Linked DNA regions of Homo sapiens: region 2 is linked to region 1. The links are contacts of gene promoters, found by promoter capture Hi-C in blood cells and fetal thymus (Javierre and others, 2016). All regions are on one chromosome and are shown on one strand. Each heading gives the region's core, a stretch centred on a gene start or on the middle of the fragment in contact. The rest is flanking DNA. Distances are from core to core; before and after follow the strand shown. Region 1 holds the start of RAVER1 (ribonucleoprotein, PTB binding 1). Region 2 overlaps DNMT1 (DNA methyltransferase 1).

The links. Contacts are between HindIII fragments. The CHiCAGO score rates a contact against its expected background, and 5 or more counts as called.
Region 2: a fragment that was not itself captured here is called in contact with the fragment with the promoter of RAVER1 in region 1 in 1 of 17 cell types (erythroblasts); the score reaches 5.7 in erythroblasts.

The regions. Positions count from the first base shown.
Region 1 is chr19:10,332,079-10,334,778 of GRCh38, reverse strand. RAVER1 (ribonucleoprotein, PTB binding 1) reads left to right here and starts at 1,250. Exons shown (of 13, transcript NM_133452.3): 1 at 1,250-1,490. The coding sequence starts at 1,272. ICAM3 (intercellular adhesion molecule 3) reads left to right here. Exons shown (of 7, transcript NM_002162.5): 5 at 1-251; 6 at 371-619; 7 at 720-1,003. The coding sequence ends at 922. RefSeq lists enhancers at 1-225, 850-989, 1,230-1,449, 940-1,856, 1,857-2,700 and a silencer at 1,622-1,845. The HindIII fragment of the contact is 8,385 bases long and covers 1-2,700 here.
Region 2 is chr19:10,136,302-10,139,001 of GRCh38, reverse strand. DNMT1 (DNA methyltransferase 1) reads left to right here. Exons shown (of 41, transcript NM_001130823.3): 35 at 397-563; 36 at 993-1,170; 37 at 1,722-1,917. Among named protein-coding and RNA genes, the nearest start is that of EIF3G, 18 kb to the right of the region's middle. RefSeq lists an enhancer at 2,362-2,700. The HindIII fragment of the contact is 6,913 bases long and covers 1-2,700 here.

The DNA.
Region 1 (2,700 bases), core at 1-2,500:
CCTAGGACCCATTGTGAACCTCAGCGAGCCCACCGCCCATGAGGGGTCCACAGTGACCGTGAGTTGCATGGCTGGGGCTCGAGTCCAGGTCACGCTGGACGGAGTTCCGGCCGCGGCCCCGGGGCAGCCAGCTCAACTTCAGCTAAATGCTACCGAGAGTGACGACGGACGCAGCTTCTTCTGCAGTGCCACTCTCGAGGTGGACGGCGAGTTCTTGCACAGGAACAGTAGCGTCCAGCTGCGAGTCCTGTGTGAGTCGGTCACCCTGACCTTTAATCCCTCCACCCCTGCCCTGGAAAGATTAGACGCTCCTCTGCACCACTGTGCCTCGGGTGTGTTGGGTGTCTGATCACACATGGTGGTTCCACAGATGGTCCCAAAATTGACCGAGCCACATGCCCCCAGCACTTGAAATGGAAAGATAAAACGAGACACGTCCTGCAGTGCCAAGCCAGGGGCAACCCGTACCCCGAGCTGCGGTGTTTGAAGGAAGGCTCCAGCCGGGAGGTGCCGGTGGGGATCCCGTTCTTCGTCAACGTAACACATAATGGTACTTATCAGTGCCAAGCGTCCAGCTCACGAGGCAAATACACCCTGGTCGTGGTGATGGACATTGAGGGTGAGCTAACACGGGGCTGCGGGTCTGGACCGGTAAGCCGGGGGGCGGGGGGGTTGGAGACAGAAGGGACGCATATTGACTTAGCGCTTTCTCTGCACAGCTGGGAGCTCCCACTTTGTCCCCGTCTTCGTGGCGGTGTTACTGACCCTGGGCGTGGTGACTATCGTACTGGCCTTAATGTACGTCTTCAGGGAGCACCAACGGAGCGGCAGTTACCATGTTAGGGAGGAGAGCACCTATCTGCCCCTCACGTCTATGCAGCCGACAGAAGCAATGGGGGAAGAACCGTCCAGAGCTGAGTGACGCTGGGATCCGGGATCAAAGTTGGCGGGGGCTTGGCTGTGCCCTCAGATTCCGCACCAATAAAGCCTTCAAACTCCCTAATCTGTGGTTTGATTCCACCCGCGCTGCAAGTCTCTCCCACCCAGGTGCACATCCACTGAGTAGCGTCGCTGCGACGGAAGGGGGCGGGGCCTGTGGCGCGCAGACGCAGCTTGAACTCTTGAGAGGTGGGCTGGGGCTTAGCCAACGGGGCAAGGGGGGCGGGAAGGAGGTGGGGTTTCTCCCAGCCAATCGACGGGCGCGCCCTCGTTGCCGCTCTATGCCGCTCCGCCCCGGCTCGCTGGTCCCAGAAGGCGCCGGGTTTCCCAAGATGGCGGCGGACGTGTCCGTTACTCACCGGCCCCCGCTGAGCCCTAAGTCTGGGGCCGAAGTCGAAGCCGGCGATGCCGCGGAGCGCCGGGCGCCGGAAGAAGAGCTGCCGCCTCTAGATCCAGAAGAGATCCGGAAACGCCTGGAACACACCGAGCGCCAGTTCCGTAACCGCCGCAAGATACTGATCCGGGGCCTCCCGGGGGACGTGACCAACCAGGTATTGGGGGGGGCGGTGTAGGAGCGTGGCGGGAAATACCACGGTGCGCGTGCGCGGGGGGAACCGGGCGACACCAACGCTGAGGTGCGCGGGGGTCGTTGGCGGGGGCGCCCAAGCACCGGATCCACGCGGGATCGGGAGAGACCAAGAGCGGGACGTGGGGGGGCGATGATGAAAGGGGAAACCGACTGCGAAGTGAGGGAGGGCGTTGCTAGGGGCGACCACAGGCTTGGGCGACACCAAGTGATGGAAGCGGGCGGGGAATGGAAGGGGGCGGACAGCTTTGGTCCTGTTGGGGAATTGTGAATGGGCTGGTACATTGGACCACCAGTTGCCCCCTGCTTGGATGATGCTTTTCTCCACCCACTCTACCACAGGGTGGCGGGACCTCACATCCAGAAGTTTCAGGACTGCGGAGAGTACGCCCCTCCATATCACGCGTTTATTCACTGCTCTCAGAGATAAATCCGGAAGTTAACAGCAGCCCCTGGGTCTCAGCCCCCAAAACCTCAGGATTAATTTGGGAAAATGGGGTCTTCTGCCACCAGCCTACAGACCTACAGGAAGGAAGCGAGGCCTGTGTTCTATGGAGCCCCTCGTGGCTAATCTTCCTGCTAGGAGTGCCCTTCTCATGGGGCCAGCATGGGGCAGCGCTTCCCAATGCTCTTTGGACCCAGGGAAATGGCATCTATACTGCCCTGCCCTATGGCGGTGAAATAGGTTCTCGCTTCCTGCTGCTGAGATTCCCTGCTCTCCGGCCCACCAGCACACCGGGTGGGCACGTGGCTAGTGGAACCCCAGGGATGTTGGGAGGGGCTGAATTTGGGGACAGATCGGGACAGGGATCATTAAGGATGGTCAGGTTTCTTTCTGGGTCTTCCTCTCAGTGTCTGCAGTCTCTCAGCTGGGAACACATTGTCTCTCCTGCAAGATGCACAGTGTGTCTGGTCCCAGCAGGCGCCAGCACTTTGCCTTCAAAGCTGGCTTGAGAGGCTGGGCATGGTGGCTCATCCCTTTAATCCCAGCACTTTGAGAGGCTGAGGCAAGAGGCTGTATTGAGCCCAAGGGTTCGAGACTAGCCTGGGCGGTATAGTGAAACCCTCATCTCTACAAAAAATTTTTAAAAATTAGCCAGGCATGGTGGTGCGTGCCTGTAGTCCCAGCTACGCAGGAGGCTGAGGTGGGAGGATCACTTGAGCCTAGGAGGTTG
Region 2 (2,700 bases), core at 45-2,544, 200 kb after region 1:
TCAGGCTCACCAGACAAGACTTGTTGCAGCCACGTTCTCTGTCCTTGTGACCACAGCCATCAGGGAAGCGACAGGGCTCCTGGTCTCCAGTGTTCTCCCCGAGTGCTAAGACCTTGGGGCCCTTGCAGTGCTTTCAGAGCTGGCCGGACTTCCCCGCAGGGTTTGCTCCCACCTTCCCCAGTGGCTGTCCCCTGGGCTCAGCTGCTTTTGTTCTTTATCTGCTCCAAACTCCTCTGACCAGGAGCACGCCTGCTGAGGTAACTGGGGATTTCTGCAAGTGCACTCCGCATTGGCCAGCCACTCCCGACTCAGGCTGCTGACCCTGGGCCTGGGTCTGGCCAGTCCAGTTGGGAGTGTCCCACTGACGGTGGGGTTGTCCGTCCTTCTCCCCCACAGGCCGGTCAGTACGGCGTGGCCCAGACTAGGAGGCGGGCCATCATCCTGGCCGCGGCCCCTGGAGAGAAGCTCCCTCTGTTCCCGGAGCCACTGCACGTGTTTGCTCCCCGGGCCTGCCAGCTGAGCGTGGTGGTGGATGACAAGAAGTTTGTGAGCAACATAACCAGGTAGGTGGCCCCCGTCGCTCCTCCACACACTGCCGAGCAGGCCTCAGTAGCTCATGGGGCCCGTGAGTACTCCCTGGTGAGGCTTGGGGAGGAGAGGATGGTACAGCATCTGCCCTGCCACACGGTGCTCTGCCACATGGCACTCTGCCACCTGTGGTCTCCAGTTCTGACCCTGCATCATCTGCTTCCCTAGTAGATAGCATGTGCAGAGCGGCCAGCCGCATGCTTGGCTGTGGTCATCCACAAAGCCCACGCCATAGCCCCATCCCCCCTTCCAGATGGCATCCAGGCACACTGCCACCCATGTGACCTCGGGCAGTGCTGTGATCTCGGGAGAAGGCCATCTGAGCAGGCAGGGGGTGGCACCTGTGATGAGGGGACAGCTGCTGCGTGCATCTCCAGAGGTGTTGACCTCCTCCTCTGTTGCAGGTTGAGCTCGGGTCCTTTCCGGACCATCACGGTGCGAGACACGATGTCCGACCTGCCGGAGGTGCGGAATGGAGCCTCGGCACTGGAGATCTCCTACAACGGGGAGCCTCAGTCCTGGTTCCAGAGGCAGCTCCGGGGCGCACAGTACCAGCCCATCCTCAGGGACCACATCTGTAAGGTAATGGCACCCTGACAGAGCGGCTCCTCCTCGAGGCCCAGCCCAGCAGCCTCGTGGGAACAGTCAGCCTGCCCAAGACTCAGGGGAGACATGGAATCTGATCCCAGGCTCCTCCTCCCGAGTCCTCAGCCTTTGTGTGACCCCTGGTCTCTCTTGCATGGTCATGGGAAGTGTCAGAGCTCCCGCAGTCCTGGACTTGGTCTGGAATGGTGTCAAGCCACTGCCCACCCACCACTGCCTTCCCCCTTGCTGCCTCTCCCCGCATGTTTTCCCAGGATGCCAAGACCAGCCCTTTCACCATCCCCTGGCACCACTCCCCTTCCCCCACCCTAAAGGCTCAGCTTAGATTCCCACGCTCTCCTACACCTGCGCTGCCTCAGGTCCCTGCCGTGGCCTCGAGCCAAGTGCGATATCCCTGACTGTCTCTTTCCCGATGGGCGTGAGCCCCAGGGGGCTTCCTGGTCACCATGGTGTTCCCAGCTCCCAGCCCACCATGGATGCTCGGATGCTGCTCACATGAGGTGACAGCTGGGCCCCCCACACTCTTTCAGGACATGAGTGCATTGGTGGCTGCCCGCATGCGGCACATCCCCTTGGCCCCAGGGTCAGACTGGCGCGATCTGCCCAACATCGAGGTGCGGCTCTCAGACGGCACCATGGCCAGGAAGCTGCGGTATACCCACCATGACAGGAAGAACGGCCGCAGCAGCTCTGGGGCCCTCCGTGGGGTCTGCTCCTGCGTGGAAGGTGGGTCCTGTAAGTTGTGGTTCCCGGTGGGCTGAGGGGAAGGAAGGCAGAGCCCTGGGCCTTTGGCCTGTGAACCTGGAGGCCAGGGCAGGGCACAGACACACCAAGCCTGGGTGTCCCAGAGAAGGTAGCTGCTGACCATGTTGAGTAGTAAAAGCAGGCTGGGTTCATGGCCCACACCTATAATCCCAGCACTTTGGGAAACCAAGGCGGGAGGATCACTTGAGCCTGGGAGGTTGAGGAGGCTACAGTGAGCTGTGATTGTGCCATTGCACTCCAGCCTGGGAGACAGAGTGAGACCCTGTCTCTAAAAAGAAAAAAAAAAAACAATAAATAAATAATAAAAGCAGGTCAGGCACGATGGCTCACCTCTGTAATCCCAGCACTTTGGGAGGCCAAGGCAGGCAGATCACTTGAGATCAGGAGCTCGAGATCAGCCTGCCCAACATGGTGAAACCCCATCTCTATTAAAACTACAAAAATTAGCCGGGCGTGGTGTCGCACGCCTATAATCCCAGCTATTTGGGAGGCTGAGGCAGGAGAATCGCTTGAACCCCATAGGCAGAGGTTGCAGTGAGCCAAGATCATGCCATTGCACTCCAGCCTGGGCAACAGAGCGAGACATATAATACTAATAATAAAAACAGTGCCCAGAGAACGAGGATTGTTGGCTGCTCCACCCCAGGGGGCCCCTTGCACAGGAGGTGCCATCTCTGCCTCCCAAAGCTCTAAGAGCCACTGTCCCAAGCCTATACCCCATCCCACAACTGCAGCCTCATCACT